Linked DNA regions of Homo sapiens: regions 1, 3, 4, 5 and 6 are each linked to region 2. The links are contacts of gene promoters, found by promoter capture Hi-C in blood cells and fetal thymus (Javierre and others, 2016). All regions are on one chromosome and are shown on one strand. Each heading gives the region's core, a stretch centred on a gene start or on the middle of the fragment in contact. The rest is flanking DNA. Distances are from core to core; before and after follow the strand shown.

What was found. The method cuts DNA at HindIII sites, captures the fragments that hold promoters and counts their contacts. A CHiCAGO score of 5 or more calls a contact.
Region 1: a contact is called between a fragment that was not itself captured here and the fragment with the promoter of BTK in region 2, in 1 of 17 cell types (M1 macrophages). The highest score is 6.0, in M1 macrophages.
Region 3: a fragment that was not itself captured here is called in contact with the fragment with the promoter of BTK in region 2 in 1 of 17 cell types (M1 macrophages); the score reaches 5.2 in M1 macrophages.
Region 4: a contact is called between a fragment that was not itself captured here and the fragment with the promoter of BTK in region 2, in 1 of 17 cell types (neutrophils). The highest score is 5.1, in neutrophils.
Region 5: a fragment that was not itself captured here is called in contact with the fragment with the promoter of BTK in region 2 in 1 of 17 cell types (M2 macrophages); the score reaches 5.4 in M2 macrophages.
Region 6: a fragment that was not itself captured here is called in contact with the fragment with the promoter of BTK in region 2 in 1 of 17 cell types (M0 macrophages); the score reaches 5.7 in M0 macrophages.

What each region holds. Positions count from the first base shown.
Region 1 is chrX:102,671,105-102,673,804 of GRCh38, reverse strand. The region is part of intron 4 of ARMCX5-GPRASP2 (ARMCX5-GPRASP2 readthrough); the gene reads right to left. Among named protein-coding and RNA genes, the nearest start is that of GPRASP1, 21 kb to the right of the region's middle. The HindIII fragment of the contact is 646 bases long and covers 1,000-1,645 here.
Region 2 is chrX:101,384,862-101,387,561 of GRCh38, reverse strand. It overlaps BTK (Bruton tyrosine kinase), which reads left to right and starts at 1,371. Exons shown (of 19, transcript NM_000061.3): 1 at 1,371-1,500. RefSeq lists an enhancer at 1,885-2,104. The HindIII fragment of the contact is 7,609 bases long and covers 1-2,537 here.
Region 3 is chrX:103,216,475-103,219,248 of GRCh38, reverse strand. It overlaps BEX4 (brain expressed X-linked 4), which reads right to left. Exons shown (of 3, transcript NM_001080425.4): 3 at 2,003-2,774. The coding sequence ends at 2,733. Among named protein-coding and RNA genes, the nearest start is that of BEX4, 2.8 kb to the right of the region's middle. The HindIII fragment of the contact is 2,684 bases long and covers 5-2,688 here.
Region 4 is chrX:102,654,103-102,656,802 of GRCh38, reverse strand. All of the region lies in intron 4 of ARMCX5-GPRASP2 (ARMCX5-GPRASP2 readthrough), which reads right to left. GPRASP1 (G protein-coupled receptor associated sorting protein 1) reads right to left here. Exons shown (of 6, transcript NM_001184727.2): 6 at 1-2,700. Among named protein-coding and RNA genes, the nearest start is that of GPRASP1, 4.0 kb to the right of the region's middle. The HindIII fragment of the contact is 852 bases long and covers 1,025-1,876 here.
Region 5 is chrX:102,989,016-102,991,810 of GRCh38, reverse strand. No RefSeq gene overlaps it. Among named protein-coding and RNA genes, the nearest start is that of RAB40AL, 53 kb to the right of the region's middle. The HindIII fragment of the contact is 607 bases long and covers 1,033-1,639 here.
Region 6 is chrX:102,605,081-102,607,780 of GRCh38, reverse strand. ARMCX5-GPRASP2 (ARMCX5-GPRASP2 readthrough) reads right to left here. Exons shown (of 19, transcript NR_146584.3): 4 at 2,128-2,299. Among named protein-coding and RNA genes, the nearest start is that of ARMCX5-GPRASP2, 6.9 kb to the right of the region's middle. The HindIII fragment of the contact is 2,962 bases long and covers 1-2,700 here.

The sequences.
Region 1 (2,700 bases), core at 73-2,572, 1.3 Mb before region 2:
GACATCCAGTAGACCTGGCAACACAGAGACACATCCTTTGGCCTGATCAACAGCCTTTTCCATTTTGAAACTCCAAGAAAGTTTCAAGGGAGTTATAGAAGAATATTAGTGTCCCTCACCACTAATCAATCTAATTGATGGAATATGAAAATAAAATTAATTGGAGATGAAATTAACTAGAGAGCCCAACTATGTATGTGAGTTATGTATATAACATCTCAGATAAGACACAATGCTTATTATAAACTGCAGTAAGTGAACTGGTATGTTTCTAACACCAGAGAACAGTTACCTCAGAAACACATGTGAAAATGACATCATCAATTTCAAAAGAGACATGAGAAATTGTTGGAGTAGGGGCGTATTATTGAATAAATGATACTGGTATTATGTAGAAAAAAATCCATTTCTATTTTCCTCTTCCATTTTTCATTTACCAGCCAAAATTCATTCTAGGTAAATGAGTATTTATTTCTCCTTCCACTCCATTTAAAACACTCATTAAGACATTTAATCTTCCTGGGATTTGTTCATGTGTATTGGAATTTAACTTGTTTTCCCAAATAACTAGCTAATTATTCCAACACCGTTCACTAAATATGCAAAAAAAAAAAAAAAAAAACGTTAACATAGCAGGCCTGAGATTGCTCTCCTTAGAAACTCCTGCTTGCCAGGACGGCCCTGGAGTCTGGGAACTTGGACTAAGGGAGAATTCCCACCATTCCTAGAGCTGATAAGAATGGCTCACTGTACATAAACTTTTTGTGCAAACAATGTGGTTCATGCAAAATACTTTCTTTCCTTCTTGGATTCTGGAATTTTGGCCTGTGCTAGGCAAAGGGCAGATACATGAAAAGCCCCCAGTAAAAATCTTGGGCATTGAGTCTCTAATGTTGTCTTTGGTAGACAAAACATTTCACACATGTTGTCACAATTAATTGTTGGAGGAATTAAGCATATCCTGTGTGACCACACACAGCAAGAGGACTCTTGGAAGCTTGAGCCTATTTTCTTCTAGATTTTGCTCCATGCTTTTTCCCCCTTTGCTGGTTTGGTTTTGTATCCTTTCACTGTAATAAATCACAGCTGTGAGTACAACTATATGCCAAGTCCTGTGTGTCCTGCTAGCAAATCATTGAACATGTGGATGGTCTTGAGGACCCACAGCAGACTGAATATTTCACTTTTTTCCATGAATCTGAACTGTCGTCTTAGTATAAATGCCTATATATGGGCTCTCTGTGTCCCATTTATCTTTTCCTGAGTCAGTTCTACTGTTTTAATAACCATAGGTTGATAAAAAAAATTTTAGATTCCTGCCCAACCTCCAAATTACTTTCCTTTCAAAATTGCTGGACTGTTCATAGGTTTGTGTGTGCACAGAAATTTATAAGGATTTCTTGAACCTCTGAAAACCTCTAAACCAAGGACCTCTAAAGGCAAATGGGGAAAACCTAAAAATATCCACTCACAAGAAAGAAAATACAACTAGGTAATAAACATCTGAAAATATGTTTAACCTCTTTACTAATATCAAAACAACAGTGCAATACTACATTATCCAATTCCATTAGTAAATGACTTAAAAATTAAAAATATATGCCGCTAAGGTCATAAACACATTAAAAACAGTATGTTCTAAGCTTACCATCTCTTTCTAAGACAAACTTTCTAGTGTACAGTCCCATCTCAAAGGAAGTATTTACTTGATTCTGAAGCAAGGTGTTTCCACTAACCTGAACCAGCATTGAATACCTGGGCCAAGGATAAACAAAGATACACAGAGAAGGAAGGATCAGGAATGTTAATGGCAGAATATGAAGATTATCTGAATGGCTGTCCAATCAAACAGTACAAGTTAACCGCTGGAGTGAAGGTATAAACACATTAGATTAGGAAGTGGGCTCAAAAGAAGGTGAAAGTTCATGGAGTTGGTGAGAGGGATCAGGAGTGTCACCATGTAGGGGGTGGATGGCCTTGTAGAAAATATTTGAAGGATCGACAGGCTTTTGACAGACATTATAGCGGGGGAGGGATAACTGGAGGGAAGGGACAAAGTAAGAAAGGTAGCTTCTCATTTGGGTATATACCCAGTAATGGGATGGCTGGGTCAAATGGTATTTCCAGTTCTAGATCCCTGAGGAATCGCCACACTGACTTCCACAATGGTTGAACTAGTTTACAGTCCCACCAACAGTGTAAAAGTGTTCCTATTTCTCCACATCCTCTCCAGCACCTGTTGTTTCCTGACTTTTTAATGATTGCCATTCTAACTGGTGTGAGATGGTATCTCATAGTGGTTTTGATTTGCATTTCTCTGATGGCCAGTGATGATGAGCATTTTTTCATGTATTTTTTGGCTGCATAAATGTCTTCTTTTGAGAAGTGTCTGTTCATGTCCTTCGCCCACTTTTTGATGGGGTTGTTTGTTTTTTTCTTGTAAATCATGCTGCTATAAAGACACATGCACACGTATGTTTATTGCGGCATTATTCACAATAGCAAAGACTTGGAACCAACCCAAATGTCCAACAATGATAGACTGGATTAAGAAAATGTGGCACATATACACCATGGAATACTATGCAGCCATAAAAAATGATGAGTTCATGTCCTTTGTAGGGACATGGATGAAATTGGAAACCATCATTCTCAGTAAACTATCGCAAGAACAAAAAACCAAACACCGCATATTCTCAC
Region 2 (2,700 bases), core at 122-2,621:
TGGGCAACATAGTGAAACCCCATCTCTACAAAAAGTAGAAAAATTAGCCCAGCACAGTGATGTGTGCCTATAGTCCCAGGTACTAGGGTGACTGAGGTGAGAGGATCACTTGAGCCCAGGAGGTGGAGGCTGCAGTGAGCCATGATCACGCCACTGCACTCCAACCTGGGCTTCAGAGCAAGACCCTGTCTCAAAAAAAAAAAAAAAAAAAAAAGGTCCCAGGGCCTGTTGGGGCTTGGGGGTGAGGGGAGGGATCTTAGAGGATGGGTCAATAGGTGCAGCAAATCACCATGTCACACATATACCTATGTAACAAACTTGCACCTTCTGCACATATACCCCATTTTTTTTGTTTGCTTGTTTGTTTGTTTTTTAGACAAAATAAAGAAAAAAAAATAAGGTCCTGTTGACTTAAAACTTCGGATGAAATTGTAGTGGGACCTGTGATCTGTTTCTACATTAGGATACAGTGCCTTGGGGCAAGGAAATATGGCAGTGCCCGAGGTGTCAAGGTGGGCAGGCAGATCAGTCAGCAGGGGCTCCACCATCATGGTCTGCATTCAATACTGGCTGCATTTCCTAGGAGAATCCCTGGGGGAATCATTGCAGTTGGAGCATAATGTAGGGGGCCCCTGAGAAAACCTCCAGGCTTCAAGTGACATACCTAGTCTGCTTTACCGGTTTACAGGACTCAAGAGAAAGGTGGACATTGAGAGTTAATCCCTGAGGCCAAATCTTAAATGGAGAAAGTCAACATCCACAGAAAATGGGGAAGGGCACAAGTATTTCTGTGGGCTTATATTCCGACATTTTTATCTGTAGGGGAAAAATGCTTTCTTAGAAAATGACTCAGCACGGGGAAGTCTTGTCTCTACCTCTGTCTTGTTTTGTCCTTTGGGGTCCCTTCACTATCAAGTTCAACTGTGTGTCCCTGAGACTCCTCTGCCCCGGAGGACAGGAGACTCGAAAAACGCTCTTCCTGGCCAGTCTCTTTGCTCTGTGTCTGCCAGCCCCCAGCATCTCTCCTCTTTCCTGTAAGCCCCTCTCCCTGTGCTGACTGTCTTCATAGTACTTTAGGTATGTTGTCCCTTTACCTCTGGGAGGATAGCTTGATGACCTGTCTGCTCAGGCCAGCCCCATCTAGAGTCTCAGTGGCCCCAGTCATGTTGAGAAAGGTTCTTTCAAAGATAGACTCAAGATAGTAGTGTCAGAGGTCCCAAGCAAATGAAGGGCGGGGACAGTTGAGGGGGTGGAATAGGGACGGCAGCAGGGAACCAGATAGCATGCTGCTGAGAAGAAAAAAAGACATTGGTTTAGGTCAGGAAGCAAAAAAAGGGAACTGAGTGGCTGTGAAAGGGTGGGGTTTGCTCAGACTGTCCTTCCTCTCTGGACTGTAAGAATATGTCTCCAGGGCCAGTGTCTGCTGCGATCGAGTCCCACCTTCCAAGTCCTGGCATCTCAATGCATCTGGGAAGCTACCTGCATTAAGTCAGGACTGAGGTGGGTCTGGGGTATGGCAGGGGCTGGGCAGCAGCAGCAATGTACCTTGCTTGGGACCCCTAAAAACCAGAGAGACAGCATGGCTGGTGCCATTTATCAGCTAGTGGAGGAGGCTGACGGAGGGTGGGAGTGTCATCAGCACAAGGCCCTGGCAGTCCCTTCTGGTGATTAGAGAGGCCGAAAGGGTCCTTTCCGACAAGGGCTGAGGGTGGGCGGAACAGGAAGAGAAAAATGTGACATGAGGTGACCATCCGAACAGGTAGCAAATGTTAGAAAGGGGTACCTCTGGCAAACTTAGTGGAAAAGTAATATTGCAGGGAGCAGTCAGATAAAAACAAGCCCTTCTGTCAAATAGTGCTTGAAGACTCAATAGGGATACATGGGTCAATGAAGCCTTTAGAAAAAGAAATACTAAGAGGCAGATTCTCTGAGAACATGGTAAAAGCTCACGCTCCACGTTATGAAGTTGACCTTTGTGAGCTAGGGAAAGGCCTGGCTAGGCCAGGGTGTAGGCTACCTGCCTTGAGCTGTACCAGGCCAAATGTCGCCAGGGTCAGAGCTGGCTTATTAAAGGACTGTGTGGAAGCTGTGCCAACCTCGTGGTAACAATGGGTAAAAGACTGGGCCAGGAGAAAGCAGCCTCTGCCTCAGCCCAGACAGTGCGGCCAACCCTTGAGGTTGTGGCAAAGGTTTCTCCTCTTACCATTGCCCTCCATGTGCATGGCTTGCTTTTCTCTTGTCTTCATTATTTCTCCTTTCCTTTCCTCCTCTCCAACCTCCTCCTCTTCCCACTCATCCTCTTTTCTCTACCTATATCCCCTCTTCATTATACCCTCCTCTGTTCTGTTGATTACCAGACCCTGACATACAGTTAGCACTTAACAAATAATTGCCGAATTGCATTGACTTTTTCTTGCTCCTTTCTTCCCCCGCTCTTTTCCCTTTTCCTTTCCCTTTCCATTTCCTCCTCCCTGCCTGCCTAGCACCTTCCCCATAAGGTGGTTGTGAGCAGTAAATGTGCAAATACATGTAAAGCTTTTAAAACAGGGCCTGGCAATAGTAAGTGCTGGATCTCAGTATTTGCTATAATTTTTACTCTGCCTCAGACCTGCCAATGTCCCCCAGAGGGCCTACCTAGAGCAAATAATATGACATTTAGAATAAAAGTGATTGGTGACCCCAATCAAGACATCCTTGGAT
Region 3 (2,774 bases), core at 97-2,596, 1.8 Mb before region 2:
AGCTTTGCTCCAAAATCCATAAAAACATGCACATTTTCCTCAAGAAACTAAAATTTTACAAATATGAATGTATAAACCACTGATAGGGATGAATGTGTTAGCCCTTTTTCTTCACTCTTGGTTTATTTGCTTTTGTTGGTTTTTATAAAAGAGTCATTATACTTTCTTGCTAGTCTCTTTAGAGGCATTCACTGACATCTCTCTGTTGTCACCTTAAAAAGACAAAATGTATTGCCCACCAAGATCAAGGAAAGTTGACCCTCCCATGGGATGTATAAATGTGTTCGCTGTGATAGCTCTGTTCTTCTTCAGTCACCTGATCCAGCCCCCTCTAGCTTTTTCTAGAAAGTTCTCTCTTTACTCCTCCACCCTTGCAGCAACACAGAGGTAAGGGAGTTTTCTTCAGTTCTTCAATCACGCTCCTGATCATGTTCTGGTCACTGAACGTTATGTCCTCTAAAGTTTTGTGCTCGTCGCCTACCATCACAGAAACTCCCACGATAGGAGTCTTAATTTAGTTCTCCTTCAACCAATTACATTGTGACCCCGTTCCCTGACCTTTACCATTTCCAGCAAATTCTGTTCTTATCATCCCACTCTCCCAGAAACACCAAGGAGACAGGGCTCATTTTGGTACTTCAAAAAACCATATTCTGAACCCAAGCATTGACACTTTTATTTCTTCCAGAAAGTCTGTCCTTATTCCTCATTCTCCCCCAAAAACCCCAGTGAGGAGGCTTCAGCTTTCTTTCAACTAATCATGTTCTGATCTCACACCCCCACAGCTAGCTTTTTTTGTGAGGGAGGTAGATTGAGGCTACTTTGGGAAATCCACAATTGGTCTTTGCCAGAAGGCATAGTACTCATTTTCAGAGGAACCAAAAGATCATTCATGGACTCTACTCAGTCAACTAGCCTTTTTGAAGTGCCTGAGTTCACCACTGTGCATTTTCAAATCAGACTCTATATCATCCTCTTCCTCTAGACAGGTGAAAGATCACTCCAGCTCCAAAATTATCTGAGGCAGAGTTTCCCTTAAATGTGGTTCTCAGTTGAACATGCAGGAATTCTGATGACTAAATAGTGTGAAGTTCATATAAAGTGATTTTTGCATAAGTTGTATATGCTTTTCCATTTACACTGATTGGCAATCAGTACATAATGCAAAAATTTCCAAATAATTCTTTGTGGAGGCAATGTGGTGAGAAGACAAGCACCCTGAAGCACCAAGGCTGTGGTCACAGCTTTCACTAATTGGCTGTATGACCTTAGGAAAAATCGCTTTCTTAACAATTCTTCACTTGTGAAACCAAGTTTGCACCAAATAAGTGATTTTCATTCTTTTTTCACTGTGATCTAGTTAGAAATACATCATAAAGGTGGCAATATTTACTACATAGAACACATTATTTTCTCCAAAACAATTCTTAACACTACTCACGGGTGATAGGATGACTTTTGTTCTCTTTTTAAAAAATTGCTTGTTGTAACCCACAAAACTGATTTCAAGAGCCATAGAGTGGCAATCCTAACTTTGAACAACACTAGAGGATCTTACTTTTTTTATCCCTCAATATTCTAAAAATTAAAGTGTACTTGAGATGTAGAAAAACAGTGTATAGAAAAACAGCCCCATTCTTGCTGAGTCTCTTTTACCATCCTCAGCTTGTCATCAAGTTACAAAAGTCAAATATTCTGCATCTCCAGATGATAAGGTCCAATAGAAAATGGCCCAGGCTGGATTCCCCCACCCCCAAGATATTCAGCAGGAGTTAGCCTTGGTACTTAACATCTCTAAGCCCCAGTGACCTCATCTGTAAAAGTGGGATAACAATACAGATTTTATAGGTTGTTCTAAGAATAAAATGAGATCCTGGATGTGAAACTGCTGACAGGGGTGATGAATTCTGAGTTCCTCAGGCTGTGACCTTCAGGCATGTTTTGCTTTGCACAGTGAATAACTTTGCCACTGTCCCTACCACTCCTATAATCATCAGTCTTATTTTAAGGTCTCATACTTTTCTTTTTTAATTACTTGCCCATCAAAGTCAGATTTATCTTGATATTGTTTATTGTTTACGGTTATGACACATTATATATATACACACACACACATATGTATATAGTTACGTACACACACACCAATGGCACTGATTTTGGTACACATCAGAATTACTTAAGAGAGTTTGTTAAAAATGGAGATTCTGGAGCCCCACTCTGTGAGTCTGGACGATAGGTCCTACATTTTTAAATGCCCCTGCCTGCCCCCAAGGTGTTTTTATACAGATGGTAGACTCACTCTGAAAAACACTAGAACATACATTCTTAAAATATCAAACATTGAATTCTGGGTATGATCATTCTTTTTTGGTCAGGGACAAGAAAAAAACTGTCAAAGACAACTGAGATTTTGAGTCCAGGTAGCCGGAGGAGGAAAAGTAATACTTACAAAAATAAGGACTGGAATGAAAAAGGAAGATGATGGAATACAGACTGCTTTTTGAACTGCTTTATGCATTTCATATTATGAAAAGAGTATTTTTCCTAAAATAGGTGAATTGCCATGCTGACCGTAACTTTTAGGCTGAGACAAAACAATATTCAATTAGAATTCTAATTTCCATTAGAAACTGGTAAGTGTAAACCCCAAAAGGCTTACAGAAAAAGTAAATCACAAAAATACAAGCTTGTAAAGCAGTGTTCACATTAACCTCAGCGAAAACTTTTAGGATTCAAGGTATGAGGCAAAAGTCATAATGGTTGTCAGGTTCAGG
Region 4 (2,700 bases), core at 201-2,700, 1.3 Mb before region 2:
ATTTTCTGGCTTGGACTCACAGGTGGCCACAGTTCCAGTTTCCTTAATGGCTTTGTCTCTAGACCAGAACCAGGACTCAACAATCATCTCTTCATCATCCTCTGGCTTGGATACACAGCATGGTCCTGCTTCTTCACTGACTTCTTTTCCATCCCAGAACCAGGACCCAAAAATGGTTTCCTCTTCAGTCTCTGACTCCATTTCCTCTACTGCCTGAGATCCAGCCTGTATACTGGCTTCTTCTTCAGGCCAGAACCAGGACCCAACAGTGATTTCTTCCTCCTCAGTCCCAGGCTTTGACTCAAAGCCGACTCCTGCCACTGCCTCCGGACTGGCCTCTTCTTCCCAGAACCAGGACCCAATAATGACTTCTTCCTCTTCAGCTTTAGGACTGGATTTGCTGCAAGACCCAGCCTCTCTTCTAATGGTCTCTTCTCTGGCCCCAAACCAGGACCCAACAATACCTTCTTTCTCAGCTGCTAGCCTGTCTTCTTCTCTAGTCTCAGCAGCTGGCTCTAGTCTGTCCTCTTCTCCAGCCCAGAACCAAGAACCAATAATGTCCCCCTCCTCAGCTTCTGGCCTGGACTCTTCTCTGTCAGTAGCCTCTGAAATGGCTTCATCTTCTTTCCAGAACCAGGAATTGATTATGGTCTCCTCTTCAGTCAGTAACTTGGCCTTTTCTCCAGTCCCATCTATATTACTCTCTTCTGTAGCCCATAACCAGGACCCTATAATGGCCTCTGGCTTTGTGTATTTTCTGGACCAGAACCACGAATTGACAATGTCCTCTTCCTCCTCTGGCCTAGACTTCCAACTTCCTCCACCGGCAGGATACATACAGGGTTCTTTTTCTGCCCAGAAGCAAGACTTATTATTGGTCTCCTCAGCCCCTGCCATAAATCTGCATCTGACACCAGTCCCATGCTTCATACTGACCTCTTCTTTGGCTCCAAAACATGGTATCATGGCCTCTTCCTTGTCCTCCAGGCTAGACTTGCTGTTGACATCACCCTCCACACAAGCTTCTACTCTGGTCCAAAACCAGGACCCAATAATGGGCTCCTCCTCCTCAGCCCCTTGCATGGTGTCACAGCTAGTTTCAGCCCTACAATCCATATAGGTCTGGTTTTCAGCCCAAAACCAGGACCCGAATATTGTCTCTTCTTCAGCTCCTGGCCTGGCCTCTTCTCCGATTCCAGCCTCTATATCAACTTGTTCTCCAGACCAAAACCAGGGACCAATGACCTCTTCTTCCTCAGACCTTGTCCTGGACTCACAGCTGACCCCAACACCAGATTCCACACTGGCCGCATCAATGACCCAGAACCACGACCCAAAAATGGTCTCTTCCTCAGCCTCTTGGTTGACCTCTTCACCAGCCCAGAACCAGGAACCAATAATGACCTGTTCATCATCAGCTGCTAGTATAGATTCAGAGGTGGCCTCAGCCCCAGTTTTCATACTGGTCTTTTCCCTAGCCCCAAATAAGGAATCACCAATACGCTCCCCATCAGTCCTTGGTCTGGATTTACTGCTAGCCCCAGTCCCCATACTGGCCTCTTCTTCAGTCCAGAACCAACTCCCAATTATGGACTCATCCTCCACTTGTAGACTGGACTCTATGCTGGCTTCATCTGCCATGCTGGACTCGTCTGTAGCCCAGAACCAGGTCCCAATGAGGGCTTCCTCCTCTGACCTGGCTTCTTGCTTGGCCCTGGCTCGGGCCTTGGTTTTGGCCTCTTCCTTTGTCATTGCTCTGGCCCTGGCCTCTTTCTTGATCATGGGCCTTGAAAAGGTATTAGCATTTTCTTCAGGCCAGAAACAGGACTCTTTTTTAATTACATCTATAGACCCAGGCATGAAATCAATGCAAGCTTCTCGCTTGGCCCTGTGCCTGGCCCTGTTATTGGCCTCCTTCCCAGCTCTCATTTTGGACCTGAATTTGGCCTCCTTTCCAGCCCCAAACCAGGACTCCAAATGGTCTTCATGCTCAGATCCAGAACTTGATTCAACATAGACTTCTTTCTTAGACCTAAACCTGGACCTGCTATTGGGATCTTCCCTGGGCCCAGACCAGGTATTGGTTTTATCTCTGGCCCAGAACCAGGGTGTCTTAACAGACTCATCCTCAGAACCAGAACTAGATGCAATATAGAGCTCCTGGTTAGTTTGGGACCTAGACATGGTATTAGCCTCTTGATTGGCCATGTGCATGGATCTGTTACTGTCTTTTACCCTATTCCCAGGATGAAATTTTGCAGTGACCTCATCTCCACTCCAGAACAAGGAACTCACAGATTTGTCTACCCATTTGAAATCAGAATTAGGAGAGGCTTCTTGTTTGGATGTAGGCCTAGGACAGCACCAGGACCCCATATTGGTCTCCTCCTTTGACCTAAAAGAAGGCTGGAATCCTGCTTGGTAATGGGCCTTCCTTCTAGGAAAGCTCTCAGTGTCTGTATTAACCAGTTCTCTATCCTCAGACAGGTACTTTGTTTTAGCAACCAAGACAGAATCAGTACTGACAAGTGGAGAGGCTATGATATTGGTCTGGGAGTTTCTCTCTGTCTTAGACAATCTTTCAGCACCAAACCTGGGCTGAGCCCACATCTGGGCTTCTTCCTTAAATCGTGAAACAGGTATTGCCTTGGCCTTACTCTTAGGGCGTGCCCCACCCACTGCACTTGTCTCAACTTTGGT
Region 5 (2,795 bases), core at 87-2,586, 1.6 Mb before region 2:
GGTCTCCAACCCTTAGTCACAACCTTTCGGAAATATGTGTTCTTCTGACCCTGTCATTCAAAGAGACATTGAAAGTACTGGGTATTCCTGACTTATGCAAATCTTCAAGGAGGACAGGGAATTGGAATATTAACTCAAGACCTTAGAACTTTAAAAACATCCTGTGGCCTATGTTTTGAAACAGCTCGACATGATAACTAATGGCTGGCCTATCTGCCTAAGGGCAGTGGCTGCTACCTGTGACATGTTGCAGGAAGCTGAAAACTGACAGTGTATACTATGCATTATACGTTATCTTCGCTTGAGCAGAAAGGAGGCTATTGGTTAATTGTTTGGCCAACTGGGAAAGTACCAAGCCAGGCTTCTAGAAAACCCAAATGTAAGTCTTAAGGCTGTTTCTAGTCTGAATCCTGTCACCCTGCTACCAGGGAATCTCCAGCCTCCTCATCATGACTGCATTAAAATAATTGATCAGGTTTATTCCAGTAGTCCAGACCTCAGATTTGCCATTGACAAAATCCAAAGATTGCTTCACTGATGGGAGCAGTTTCATGGAACAAGGAGTCAGAAGGGCCAGACATGCTATAGTTACTACCCAGCACATAGATGAAGCCCCTGGACGTCCGCCCAAAAGGCTGAGCTCATTGCTTTAACCAGAGCTATACATTTGGTTAAGGGAAGGAAAGTCAACATTTATATTGACTCTAAGTATGTTTTCCTAATATCCCATGCTCACCGGGTAATTTGGAAGGAAAGTTGGCCTTTTTAATTCTAATAATAAAGCATGGTCCTCAAATTCTTGAATTATTGGAGACAGTAAAAATGCCCAAAGTAGCAGCAGTTATTCACCGTCAAAGACACTGGACACCCATGTTGCATAAATAAATATTAAGACTGACCTAGAGGTGAAAAATGTGGTCAGGGGGCTCACCACTCAGACTGGCTCTTGTTCCTACTCTGTTTAGATCCGTATTTCCCAGGATATTCAGAGTCTTATCTTAAAAGAGCTGAGCAAGGAGGATTTTCTAAGCTTGCTGATCATAAATGGCTTACAAATAATGAAGGAAGAAGTTATCCTTCCAGAAACTTTAATTAGACCAATTCATGAACAAATCCAAAGCACCCATTATAGTGGGAAGCTACTCTATGCTGGATACAGCCTTATCTTTCGGCCTAACTTGCAATGAACAATACAAACTGTAGTCCAAAGTTGTCCTATCTGCTTGAAAAAATAACCCAAAGCCCCAGGAAGGCACAAAAGTTCCCTTTAAACAAGGAAATCAATGGAAAGTAACTCATCCTAGGGAATACTGGCAATTAGATTTCACTATAATGCCCTGAGCCCCTGTATATTTGATGCTGGTTTTTGTCAGTACCTTTATAGGTTGGGTTGAGGCTTGCCCCACCAAGACTGAGAAAGCTACTGAAGTTGTAAAGGCTCTAATGAAGCATATTCCTTGATTTAGGACTCTTACACACTCTCCAAAGTGACAATGGAGCTGTTTTTATAGCCCGAGTAGCCCAGAAAGTATTGTGGTCACTGAGTACTGATTGGAAACTGCATTTATTTTGGCGACCTCAAACTTCTGGGATGGCTGAAAGAATAAGTAGGACATTAAGGAAGTCTCTTTCTAAAGCTTCCCAGGAGACAAATCTTACCTGGGAAAAGGTCTTACCCCTTGCCCTGCTGAGAGTATGGGTAGCCCCTAGAGGTGGGTTGGCTCTTAGCCCCTTTGAAATGTTATATAGGCGACCATTTCTCTGACCTGTAGACTCCCCATCTGAGGATTTTTCTTCCCAACAAAAGCTAAATCACATACAAAACAAAAACCAATTAGTCTGAGTTTTTTTCTGACAGATTAGTTCCCTAGTGATATGCCTCTCTACTCTGACACTGAAGGACCAAGCCCTGCTGAAAACCTGGTAATTCCAGGCTGAAGACGAGTTGCAACCACAATGGATTGATCCTTGAGGTGCTGCTGACTACCTACTCATCTGTTAATTTGGCCAGTGTTAAGCTGTATATTTATCATATTTGAGAAAACCAGTCCCTCTGGGTTCCCTCCAGGGGAAACAGTCATGGTCTTATAAACTTCTGACAGCCTTAATATTCAAAGCCCTGTCAAAGACTCTAGATAAGAAATCATGAAGGGAATATGCACTTTTCAGGTTATTGTTCTCTAGATCTTTCCTGCTTCTAGATGGGAAGGTAACCCATTAACCCATATTTCACAAACTCTTGCTCTATCAGTCAATTTATCCCACAGTTGACTTTTGGATAGGCTTAGGATTGTTCTTAAACTCCCTAGGGGATCTTCTCCATGTTCTACATTATTAATCACTCTAGTTCCAAAAAGCCAGAAACTAGCCAGGTACTTGTGAGTATTTCCAGTTACAGGTATGTTTTCATTCTTCATTATCCCACGATGCCCCTTAGAATGAAGCAGCTAGAAAGATCAGTGACTAGATTCCCCATGATTGAAGACTAGATAAATAGAAAGGGAAGGGAAACTGGCCTACTTTTCTCATAGAGCTGATGTTTATAGTTTTTTTGAATGAACATAGAAATTGACCTTCCTGGTCTTAAAATTTGAGCAACTTACTTTTGTATAATCTGAGTTCCTTTCTCAGAAAACCTACTGTTAGAGCTCCCAGGTAGCATCAGAGAGCTAAAACTTTATAGATCACAGTATCCAGACAGTGACGCACCAGACTTCTTATCTGATCACCTGCTGCCCGTTGACCAACTCTTCTTCCATAATCCGCCTCCCTAATTCCTGTACTCCCACCTCTAT
Region 6 (2,700 bases), core at 32-2,531, 1.2 Mb before region 2:
AAGATCTTCTAAAAGAAGAAGGGCAAAAAAGCTCTTCTACTTAGAAGAAGAAAAGTACTACTTACAAATACCTAGATGGTATAGCCTACTACATACCTAGGCTGCATAGTATAGCCTACTGCTCCTAGGCTACACACCTGTATAGAATGTTATTGTATTGAATAATGCAGGCAATTGTAAGACAGTGGTAAGTATTCATGTATCTAATCATATAAAAGGTACAGCAAAAATTTGGTATTATATTCTTATGGGACCACTGTCATACATGCAGTCCATCATTGACTGAAACATTGTGTAGAACACGACTACACAAGGAGCTCAAACAGCTAAACAACAAAAACACAAATAATTCAATTTAAAAATTGGCAAATGATCTGAATAGGCATTTCTCAAAAGAAGACATACAAGTGGCCAAAAATTATATGAAAAAACACTCAACATCACTAATCATCAGGGAAATGCAAATCAAAACCACAGTGAGATATCATCACACCCCAGTTAGAATGGCTATTGTCAAAAAGACAAAAAAAAATAACAAATGGTGGTACGGATGCAGAGAAAATGGAACTCTTATACATTGTAGGTGGGAATGTAAATTAGTACAGCCATTATGAAAAACAGCATGGAGATTTCTCAATAAACTAAAAATAGAACTACCATATGATCCAGCAATCTTACTGCTGGGTATGTATCAAAAAGAAAGGATATCAGTATATCAAAGAGATATCTGCACTCTCATGTTTATCACAGCACTATTCACAACAGCCAAGATATGGAATCAATATAAGTACCCATAAACAGATGCAAGGATAAAAAAATGTGGTATATATACACAACAGACCACTATTCAGCCATAACAATGAAAGAAATCCTGTCATTGGTGGAAACATGGATGAACCTGGAGGACATTATATGAAATAAGCCAGGCACAGAAAGATAAATACCACATATTATCATTCACATGTGGAAGCTATAAAAGCTCATCTCATAGAAGTAGAGTGTAGAATAGTGGTTACTATTAGGATGGTGCAAAAGTTATTGTGGTTTTTTTTTTTCAATTAAAAGTTAAGAGAATATAGGGAAAGGAATGGGGTGGGAAAGGTTGGTTAACAGATACAAAATTACAGCAAGATAGGAGGAATAAGTTCTAATGATCTATATAGCAATGTAGGGTGACTACAGTTAACAATAAATAATTATATATTTTCAAATAGCAAGAAAAGATTTCGAATGTTCCCAAAACAAAGAAATGATAAATGTTTGAGGTGATAGAAACACTAATTACTCTGATGTTTAAAACTATACAACTTTTAGAAGAAAACATATGGGTATCTTTGTGACCTTGAATTTGGTGATGAATTCTTAGATATGACACCAAAAGCACCAGCAACAAAAGAAAAAAATAGATAAATTGGGCTTCATTGAAATTAAAAACTTTTGCACATCAAATGACATCATCAAAAGTGAAAAAACCTACAGAACAGGAGAAAATATTTGCAAATCACATAGCTAATAAGGGGCATGTATCCAGAATATATATATTTTAAAACTCCTACAATGCAACAATAACCAAAAACACAATTAAAAATGAGCAAAGAACGTAAACATACATTCTCTAAAAAATATACTCAAATGGCCAATAAGCACATGAAAAGATGCTCAACATCATAAGACTTTCGGGAAATGCAAATTAAAACCACAATGATATACTACTTCACACCTCCTAAGATGGCTATTTAAATAATAATGGAAAATAACAAGTGTCACCAAGAATGTGGATAAATTGGAACCCTTGCATATTGCTGACGGGAATGTAAAATGGTACAGGCACTGTGGAAAACAGCTGGTAATTCCTCAAAAAGCTAAACAAATCATACAACCCAGCAATTCCACGTCTAGGTATATACCCAAAAGAATTTAAATCAGGGACTCAAACAGATACTTGTACTCCAATGTTCACTGCAGCAATATTCATAAGAGCCAAAAGATGGAAACAACCTAAGTGTCCATCAACAGATGACACCTCATGAACAATCTAGGAGATGACTTCGCATCCCACAATTCCCATCCAAGGAGAGACCATCAACTTTGTGCTTTGACACAAATACGTACACACCCCACACTCACCCTTCTCTTTAGCTGATGTTGGAAAATTCCATAGCCATCAACTGATTAAGTGTGTGCTCCACAGGGCATTTGAGACACAGAATTATTTCCAAAGGGTCTGGTCCAATTGTATTTTGATGATCTCCAACACTGAGAGTAGTACCCACAGCTGGTATTACAGGCTACAGGAGTTCTGTGGATTAAAAAATGTTATAAAGAACTTCAAAAATCATCTAAATTGAAGTTTCACATTGCAAAAAAACTACCTTGCTTGTTTCCCTTAATGCACAAGTGTAGCTAACTGTGCTTCATTTAAACTTTTAGATGTACCACAATAGATTCACAACTGATCCTAGTAGAAATTAAACTACAGATAGCTATTAAAAGTAGGGATCCATTACACCATATTGAGATTTTCCACTTTAGACCTTCCCCTAAATGTATAAAAAGTTAGGAGAGGAAGGTCAACAGAAAGACCATTTGTATACTGATCCTAATATTTATATTTCCCAATTCTGGGCAGTAAATTAACAGTAAAAGAGGCAGGGGGTAGGAGAGGCAGAGGTGACCCCAAAATCCTAAACTATACATTGT